2 separate regions of the Homo sapiens genome follow, and region 2 is linked to region 1. Evidence: promoter capture Hi-C in human tissues and cell types (Jung and others, 2019). All regions are on one chromosome and are shown on one strand. The core of a region is centred on a gene start or on the middle of the fragment in contact, and the rest is flanking DNA. Distances in the headings are between cores, read along the strand shown. Region 1 holds the start of C10orf67 (chromosome 10 open reading frame 67). Region 2 overlaps LOC105376454 (a long non-coding RNA gene).

Region 1 (5,284 bases), core at 2,166-4,665:
TTTGAGATGGACTCTTGCTCTGTCATCTAGGCTACAATATGATGGCACGAACACAGCTCACTCTATCCTTGACTTCCCAAGCTCACGTGATCCCCCTGCTGCACCCTCTTGGGTAGCTGGGACTCTGGGTTCTTGGCTAATTTGAAAAAAAAATTTTTTTTTTTTTTTTGGCAGAGATGGGGTCTCCCTATGTTGCCCAGTCTAGTCTTGAACTCCTGAGCTCAAGCAATCCTCACCTTGGCTTCCCAAAGTGCTGGGATTACAGGCCCAACCCACCCCTGCCATTTTCTTCACGTTCACTACTATTTCTTTCTCTCTTTTTAATTTTTTGTAGAGACAGAGTCTCAATGTTGCCCAAGCTGGCCTCTAGCTTCTGGGCTCCGCCCACCTTGGCCTTCCAAAGTGCTGGGATTACAGGCGTGAGCCACACGCGGGCCTGCTCTCTTTTAAACAGTGATGATCTAAACTTAGCTCCAAATAGAGGAAATCCTTTACTCCAGTGCTCAAGGACATTTGGCGGCAAGGATCCAAATTCCACATCCACAGTTGCGCCTGCCCCAAACCCCCTACTGGGCTTGTCATCTTGGTTTTCAGCTTTAGTCGGCTGACAAATGCTTATTGATAGACTTTCACAGAGTGGATATGCTGTCTCACAGCAGCAAAATTTAAGACATTAAAATGATCTAGTCTCAGGAGTTTTGCCATAAAGGATTTAGTAGCATTATATTGCCCTGGCTAAGAGCCTTACTATGTCCTTCCAAAGACTTTATTTAAGAACTTTGGTTGTGGATGAAGCATGACATAAAACAAGTTTACATAACAGAGCCTCCACCACATAATCATATATTATAGCTGGTGATAAAAGAAAAATAAGCACTTCGCATGTGATGACGCTCTAGAAAGAATTTAAATTACAAACCTAAACTGAAACCTCTTGGCTCTTATTAGACTATAGAACTGATACTACCCAACTGGAATACATAAATTACTATGTTTAGAGTCAGCACTTGACTCTTAATCAAATTCTCATGCTAGTTAATCTGAGATGTTATCACTTTTAATAACTGGTAGGCGATATTTTTATATAAATACATATTCTATTTATACCTGTGGTATGTCAGAGAAGCACTTCAAATTTTAAAATTGTGCCTGAAGTCCTATTAACTGAACAAGTAAAAACAATGTTAACTTATGAAATGTTCAATTTTTTAAAATTGAAATCTTTATTTATTTATTTATTTTGAGACAGGGTCTCACTCTGTCGCCCAGGCTGGAGTGCAGTGGTGCAGTCTCGGCTCACTGCAACCTCTGCCTCCCGGGATCAGGTGATTCTCATGCCTCAGTCTCCCAAGTAGCTGGGATTACAGGCGTGCATTACCATGCACAGGTAATTTTTGTATTTTTAGTAGAGACAGGGTTTCACCATGTTAGCCAGGCTGGTCTTAAACTTCTGACCTCAAGTGATCTGCCTGCCTCCGCCTCCCAAAGTGTTGGGATTACAGGCATGAGCCACCGAATCCAGCCAAAACACTGACATCTTTAAACAATGTTTTCCCTAGTAGTGGTTTAGGAAGAAGGAATAGAGTCCTTCAAAGGCCTAGTTGGTATTTCTCTTGCAGTTGCCTCATGCATGTGCTGCGTGTTTTTCTGCTTTATAGATTACCCCAACTTTGAGAAACATTCATTATCCAGTTTTTACTTGTGAGAAAATAGAGGCTCTGAAATGTTAACTTACTTGCCCAAAATTCTAAATCGAGTAAGTTTCAAAGCCTGTATATATTTAATATTTACTGCAGAGTTCATGAGCTTTCCACTAAAGCCATCAATGAATTTAGCATGTGATAAAAGAGGCCTGGATTTAATATGACAAATGTTTTGACCACATCAACGCCAGTTACTACAGGTGAGAATCTGATCTGAAATAAACAATTTTATAAGCCGGAACACCTGTGAGATAAAATACAGGTAACTGACAAGAAGAGAAGTATTATGTAGTTAACGGTTTCAAAAACAATCATCATCATAGCGTGGTCTCTTAGACACTGAAATCTGAAACTCCTTGATATGCTATAGCAAGGTTTCAAACAAAGATGTTCTGTTCAATGCATGTTTTTGTGGGATGGCGTAACTATGCAGACTATATCAGTCAACAAATGCTGTACAGAGCTGACCAATGACTCATGAAATCTTCTGTGCGATCTCTCTCCTCAGTTTCAAACGATTCATTTATAATTGCACTAGGAAAATAGCCAACAGCTTGTCACATTCTTTACACTGTCTTGGCCCAGCTCTAAACAGATAGGTTTTGAAATTTTAACTTAAAATTTTAATCTTTATTTTAAAACATGTATATACATTGTGGTAAAATATCACTTAGGAAAAAGAAAAGTTATTGTAGATATATAAATTTCTTTCTTTTAAAATACCTTTTGATTATATAATAAAAATTCCCCAAATAAAGTCTGAAGTTAGAGTTTGTAATTAAAAACCTCCAAAGAGTAAAAGTAACTCTTTTTCTCTTCTCTCTTCATCTCCCCCCCAAAAAATAAGCCTTCACAGAAGATGATTTTGGCATTGGTTATGATGTTTTATTGGCATTTGGGGCTTTTAATCTTTGTCTTTAAACATAATAGTAGTGATAATGCTACAGTGCTTTTCTTTTCCTGTTTTGAGCTTCTAAATCCAGCTAAGTTATTTTCACTTACTGTTACAAGACAGAGAAGAGGCCGGGCTCTGTGGCTCACGCCTGTTATCTAGCACTTTGGGAGGCCGAGGGGGGCAGATTGCCTGAGCTCAGGAGTTAGACTAGCCTGCACAACGCGGTGAAACCCCGTCTCTACTAAAAATACAAAAAATTAGCCTGGCTTGGTGCTGTGTGCCTGTAGTCCCAGCTGCTCGGGAGGCTGAAGCAGGAGAATTGCTTGAACCCGGGAGGCGGAGGTTGCAGTGAGCCCAGATCGCGCCACTGCACCCCAGCCTGGGCGACAGAGCGAGACTCCGGCTCCAAAAAATAATAATAATAATAATAAGAGAGAGGAGAAAAAACTTATTTTTCTGTAGATAATATATTGAAATGCAGATGTAGTATAGACAGTTCTAAACCAGACAATGACATTTTAAAAATAAATTTAGCCAGTCGTTTACAGAAAAACAATGACATACTGATATTAGAATAGGTGTCTCCTATTAGTTGACAATGAGTGATACATAATTTAAAACTAAGGATGACAACAGTTTCACTATTAACTCTTATTATTGTAGAAACCTGGTAAAATTGAATTCCACACTAGATGGTATAGTTTAAGACTTAACGCCTCACATTCTGACCTCATTAAATAGAAATCTGTTTAATCTCTGCAAGGAAATATTTTGTCCAGGAACGCCTACGTTTGTGGCAGGTGGAGACAGCTTATTAGGCAGCCTGCTCTCCTCTTATGATGGCCTTGGTCCGGGATCGCAGGGCTCATTATGTCATGAGCATAGTTATTAGATGGGTTCACTGCTTTTCCTCCTCCTTGAGGGGGACCTTTGGCACACGCTGGGAGGCCATGAAAGCCAAGGCCACCGAGCTGCGGGTCTGCTGCGCGCGTAGGAAGCGAGAAGCTCGGGAATTCAAGCCCCCGCAAATGCGCGGGTCCACGAGGTAGGCTGAGCTCCGCGCCTGGGTAGAGGAGGAAGCGAGCAGGGTCCAGGGGCACGGCGGGAGGCTGAAGGGTTATTTACGGGGGTGCAGCTTTCCTCTGGGGTATCGCAGCAGCCTCCAGGCTGTGGGAGTCTTGTGGGGAAGCCTTGAGGCAGGCGGGACAGTGAAAGCGCAGCGGGGTGGCTTGGGAGCCCGCCCCGCCTCCTCCTCCCCCTCTCCACTCCCCTCCTCCCGCGCGTGCTCCCTCCCCATCCTCCTTTCCATCTCTTCCCCCTTCCCCCACTCCTTCCCCCTCTTCCTTCCCTCCACACCTCCTCTACTTCCTTTCCCTCTCCCCTTCCCCCCCATCCCCAACCTTCTCCCTATCCCCCTCCTCCCCATCTCCTTCCCCCTTCCCCTCCCCACCCCGTTCCCCACCCCCCTCCACTCGCGGCCCTCCCCGGCCCCCGCCCACGGATTCCCGCGCTTCGCCGGTTACCTGGGAGTCGCCATGGCAACGGACGCCGGGTTCCCGACTCCGACTCAGGAGAGCGAGCGGCTCCGCGGGAGGCGCACGTCCGGGGCTGCAATGGCGAACTGGGGCGACTCGCCTGAGACAGAGGAGGGCCGGAAGATCATGGAGGGCCTCGAGGCCTCTATTGAACAATTCCAGTTCAACCCCAGGTGACCAGCGGGAGAGGCAGTCCCCGCCGGCCCGCCCCGGAGCCCTCGCGCCCCGGCCCTCGCTCAACGCCTTTCCAGGCCCCTTGCTCCAGCCGCTGGGCTTCAGTTTTTTGTTTGTTTTTCGAGGGGATCACTGTCCGAAAAGAGCTGCAGTTTTCACTTCTTCAAGTGTATAGCTGGACACTAAGAGCACGGACTCTGGAGCCAGACTGCCCGGATTCCAGAATCTTGGCGACCCTCTCACAGGGGCCGTGAGTTAGGCGACTGACTGCTCTGTGCCTCAGTTTTCTCAGCGGGAAATAATCGTTCATGAATGATGAAGAGTAGTGCCTGCTTCATAGATCATAGTGAATATTAAATGAGCTAATCTAGGACACAGTACCCGTCTTAGTCCCCTCGGGCTGCTGTAACAAAACAACATAGGCTGGGTGGCTTATAAGCAACAGGAATTTGTTTCTCCCAGTTCTGGAGGCTGGGAAGCCCACTGGCAGATTCCAGGTCTGATGAGGGTCCCTTCTGCACAGACAGTACCTCCTGGCTGTGTCTCCACATGGTGCAACGGGCAAGGGAGTTTTCCCCCACGTCCCCCACACCCGCTCCCACCCTGCTTTTAGAAGGGCACTAATCCCATTTATAGGGCTCCACTTTCATGACCTAGTCACCTCCAAAGTCCACACCTGCTAATATCGTCATCTTGGGGGTTAGGATTTCAACATGAATTTTCAGGAGACACACTCAGACCATAGCAGAATCATAGAAGTGTTTGCCGATGTCATTATTTGCTATTCCTTGATCCTTGTTTAAAACCCGTCCCTTTCATAATCCTTTGCCCCCTGTGTTCTAGCTTTGTTGTTTATTTGGATAATGTAGAGCTGATGTTTCTGGGAAAATGCAAATTTCTTTCTAAAAACCTTTTCAAATCAGTAGGTAGCCAGAATTAGCTTAGCTGCTATGGGAGAACTTACCGTTGTATAAGGC
Region 2 (4,925 bases), core at 369-2,868, 240 kb before region 1:
TTATTCTGACACAGCTTTCACAGGACAACCAACAACCTCATTTGAAGTAAATTCCTTAGTCTGTTCCAATAAGAATAATTGTGTTGGAGCTGTGCTCCCTGCTCTAAAGAGGGCAAATCCATTTACTGCTGCAGAAAAGTCTCTTGGATGGATCTAACCTCTTTGCTTTGTGGGTTCTGATGCTGCTGAGTAAGCCAATGATATTTCAAGTTGCTGCTTGTTTGGACACAGTTGGGCAGAACTCTGTAGAGTGCTTTTTTCTTCAACGACTCAATCATGACTGCAAAAACAGCATCAGTATCAGAGATGTGGAGTAGTAACTCAGCTTGACAGCACTGAACTAACGGACATCCATCATTGGATTGTTCACACATCTTTCACAATTGAGTGTCTGACTTTAAAAGGAATTGTCATATAGTCTTTAGCATGTCAGTAGCATTCATCTGTAGCAATCTGTAGTGTTTATCTGTAGTTTAAATCCAAAAAGAAAAGAAAAATTAATCTTTCATGCAAGGCTGCTTTTGGAACAAAATTAATAATGGCTGCAATGTGCAGAATGATTCTCTCATGTTGTGTAGGCTAAATCAGACTAATTTAATTTTTTTGCAGTAATGGCTTAAAATATTGCAGAAGAAACATTTGAAACACTGTGAACATGATACCACTATACAACCTATTTACCAATCTCTTTTAGAGAGTGCTCACCAAGATTATTCTTGGCTCAATGATGTGTTTGCTTTCCCTCATAAATCTAACACTGTTTTTTCAGATTCATCCATTGTCATTTTTGGTGAATTCTAATTGGCTCCCACTGAGGCTTGGCAGCCTCCAAACTGATCATATGCCAGTTTAATTGACTCCAGGGAATATTTAACAAATTGTTCACTATTTCACTGTGCACTGAAGGATAGCTGCAACTATTCTTTTTTCCTGTCATCACCATTGGGGCCATTATGACAACCCTGTACATGTTTTATTTTGTGGCATAATTTTCTGTGCTGGAAAAATAATAACGCTTCACCACCTCCATCTTCTCTACCATTGAAACTATGATGAGATCAAAGATTGACTCAAGCTAATACATGGAAAAATAATGATTGCTAGCCTGTCAATTTGTAGAGCAATTTGTAACTCAATTCCTTATAATGCTGGACACCTACAAAGATGTATTGCAATGAAATCATTGTGTGATAATTCATTCCATCCTTCTAAAATGAACTTTTAATCAGCTAAGAAAATGTAATAGATCTATTCATCAGGTGTGTTTAATGAATGAGTTTTAAATAACACAGGATCATAGGAAACATCTGTGAAATCTTTGAATACAAGCTTTGTTTCTTTAAAAACAAATCCGTTAGAGAAAAATATTGAACTTCATCACATTGTTTATAGACTACAAAGATATGACTTCCAGGTAATAATTTATAAAGCAATGAAATGAAAATATGCAAATTTTCAAGAAGCATTCAACATAAGAGGCTTTTCTTGTTTAGAAAAGTTGTCTCTTTAATCCCTTCAATTCAGTGAGTTAACACTGAGCAATGAAAGGTACTCCATGTTGCAGAGGAAAACTGTGAGTTATAGCTCTGAATTTGGACAAACACACAAGCTGGAGGGACAGATGGGGGAGCCGCATGCAATCATCAGCAGAGCCCTCTCCTTAAATGAGAATATGCCATAGTCAGAGATAGGAAGATATTTCCTCTGCCGATATATAGGGAACAAAGAGTACTATGACCATGACATTGTGAATGAGTCCAAAGGACAAATGGCAAAAGGTGCACAGAGTTGTTACAACTTTCATAATCTAATCTGCCTTCCTCAAATGAGAGTTTAGAATTATAAAGCTACATGGCCATCCAGTTGGCACAAAAGCGCACTGCTATAACCATTGATTCATTTCTTGACTTCTTTTTTTCTTTTGCCAGCGCTTGTCTTTTAGCTATATTCCAGTTGCAGACCACAATTCTACCTTTCACTGTGTTCATTCTGCTGGAAACCTGGCAGGACCCATCACCCCATGCTTACTGGACCACATCAATTTTGGAGCCAGCTGCTCTAACATTTGGCAACATTAGGATCCACGGAATAACCCCTACAGTATCTGCAGTGGCTCTACCCATGTTAGCACCTATAAAAATAACAGTTACTGAGCACCAACTATGTGCCGAGCACTACTTTAGAAACTTATGATACATTAAGGAACAGACAAGGATACTGAGGTGTCTGACTTTGAGCCAAAATCCTACATGTGCTCTTTCAAGACAGACCTTAGCCAATCACAAAGACTTCACCTGGCAGGCATCACAAGGCATGAGCGGGAGGAGTGATCCTCCCCTTACTAGAGTTGGTGCACAGCCAAAGCGTTGCATCCTCTGAAGGAAGCTGCACTCAGGGACTCAGGTGCATGCCCCTGGCTGGACATGCTCTTACACATACCCATTTTCCTAGCCTAGGTGACTCCAGTTGGAGGCCTGCTTACCTTCGGGAAGCGGGTGGGAGGGCTCAGCTGAGACACTGTTCAGATGCCTCTGCTAAGACTTCCTAATGGGTGTGGGGCAAGAGGAGGGGCTTAAAGCTAAAGACACCTTTTTCCACTGTGACTCAGTTCTCAGTACTTTTCCCACTCCTAGCCCTTCTCTGCCTCCTCCAATATCCCACTCCATAAAACAGCAGGAGCCTTTTGTTCAGTGTCCCTTTAGCAATGAGATGATTTTCCTGTGTGAACCATTCCTAGAAACACAAAAATGGAACAATGGGGAAGCCAGCACCTTCTCTTATTGGTCTCTTGCTTGTACTGTTGCAATAAGTAAATAAAGGCCTTATTGTTTGGCCCATTGTTCAAATTAACTACCTTGGCACCTGGCAGTTTTCAAACAGGTGCCTGCCTTTGAGAAGCTTACATTCTAGATTACTCCCTGACTTGGGTTAAGCATTAAAGATTGTTCAAAAGTAAACATCAGAAAAAATGGTAGCACATTAATTTGTTATTAGTAATTAGTAATGCAACTCAAATTTTAATTTCAGAACCACCAGTCAGGGAAGGTACAAAACACAAAATGCCCAAGGTTATAGGTTCTGGGAAGCATTTTCTGAAAAGTCTTAGTAGTCATGAGACATTATTACAGGCCATACATCTGGGAGTGATGGGTTCTCTTACAAAGGGAGGCAGCTGGTTATTTGATTTGGGTTGGTTTGATTCAGTTTGTTGGTTTTGCCTGCCCACATTTTTTTTCTTTCTGAAACTGCCTTTCTCCATCAGTGGGTACCAGACTTAGGTAAACTCACAGTTAAGGGCACAGTCTTCCAGACTGCTACATCTAGCCAAAACTTCTGACACCAACTGCAATGAGAATATCAAGCTTCAAAGTCTAAGGAAACAGACGTCACAGGTCTGGCCTCAATACAGACACCAATTGTGAGTTTTGGGGTCCCCCACCACCACCTTCGCTTCAGACCAACTGGCTACAAATTCAGGGGTTTCTATGACCACCCTTAGGCTTGATAATCTGCTAGGACAACTCAAAGAATTCAGACAAACACTATACTTATGATTACAGCTGTATTATAGCAAAAGAATATAAATTAGAAGCAGAGGCATATAGGATGAGTTCTGGGAGGATTCCAGATATAAAGTTTTCATCATCGTCAAGGATGCCTTACACTCCCATTATCAAAATGTAACAAAACACTCCCAGTACTGCCAACCTGGGAAACTCACCTGAACTTTAGTGTCCAGAGTGATTATTGCGGTTTTCTTACATAGGCATGACTTAATCATTGACCACATAGCTGAACTCAACTTCCAGCACCCTCTTCTTGTCTCTCTGGAGGTCAGACTTATATCCTGTGGCCCAAAGGCCCAATTCTGTAATCACACAGTTGGTCTTTCTGGAATGGCGATCCCACCACCCTGAGTCACCTCATTAGCATAAACTATCAGGTTTAGGTCTGAGGGGTCCACCATGAATAGCAAAGACACTCCCATCACTCTGGAAGTTCTAAAGGTTTAGGGGTTTCCTCCCAGGAGCTGGGACAAAGGTCAGTAATCTCTCTGGGTAAAGTTAATATTCTATTATGTAGTGGGGTTGCCAATCACCACCTGACTTAAGTTGGTCAGTTGGAACACCGCATTCTCTGACAATATTCAATGATTGCTTCAAGGTTGAGTATATCACAAGCTCAGTCATGAGATGCTCCCAGAGGCTCTGCCACCAGAGCTATCAAATAAACTTTTCTTTATACATTGGTGCTGTGATTTTGAGAAAAGAGTGTGTGTGTGTGTGTGTGTGTGTGTGTGTGTGAGAGAGAGAGAGAGAGACCTTGTATCTCTTGAGTCTCTGAATTTAGCCATGTGAAAAGAAAGTCTCCTAGACTTCTCAGTTATAAGAGCTGATAGATTCCTTTTTGTGGAGGGGGTTGTTAATTTAGCTGGTGAGATTTCTGTGACTTGCAATCAAAAGAGCCTTGTCTAATACCTGCAGGACTCTTGTAGGTGCAGAAGTGGAGCTGAAGGGTGGATACAAACAACCTTCAACAGCACGATGTTGCCCATGGCCTTTCTCGCTTTCTAGAAGTTTTCTAAAAGTACCACACAGCTTGTTTTCACTCTAAGTTAATCAAGGAATTAAAATGGATGTATACTCCACAAGAAAGTCATGACACTGACTGATTACTTGATACTTTTAAAACCATATAAAGTATATTTTAAACCAGGAAAAAATACTGGTGATTGGGGTTTTAATCCCTATTCAGCCCCACAACCATTCATTCAAATCAAAAGAAGTAATCCTATCAGTAAGCTTTGTTCATGGGAACATTGGATAAGCTGAATGGAAGGTTATTGCCACTCAAATCCAGCTTTAGAATTTGTAGTTCTAACCCTTTGAGTGGTACCACCCCCTTGTTATAAACATGTGTGATAT

What was found. The method cuts DNA at HindIII sites, captures the fragments that hold promoters and counts their contacts. A contact is called where the count stands out against the background at its distance.
Region 2: a fragment that was not itself captured here is called in contact with the fragment with the promoter of C10orf67 in region 1 in 4 of the 25 tissues and cell types used here (adrenal gland, hippocampus, small bowel and 1 more).

What each region holds. Positions count from the first base shown.
Region 1 is chr10:23,342,928-23,348,211 of GRCh38, reverse strand. It overlaps C10orf67 (chromosome 10 open reading frame 67), which reads left to right and starts at 3,415. Exons shown (of 16, transcript NM_001371909.1): 1 at 3,415-3,643. The coding sequence starts at 3,438. C10orf67-AS1 (C10orf67 antisense RNA 1) reads right to left here and starts at 4,255. Exons shown (of 2, transcript NR_155752.1): 1 at 4,122-4,255; 2 at 3,051-3,788. RefSeq lists a silencer at 1,998-2,292. The HindIII fragment of the contact is 15,239 bases long and covers 1-5,284 here.
Region 2 is chr10:23,581,289-23,586,213 of GRCh38, reverse strand. LOC105376454 (a long non-coding RNA gene) reads right to left here. Exons shown (of 9, transcript XR_930754.3): 9 at 1-466. Among named protein-coding and RNA genes, the nearest start is that of OTUD1, 140 kb to the right of the region's middle. The HindIII fragment of the contact is 4,928 bases long and covers 1-4,082 here.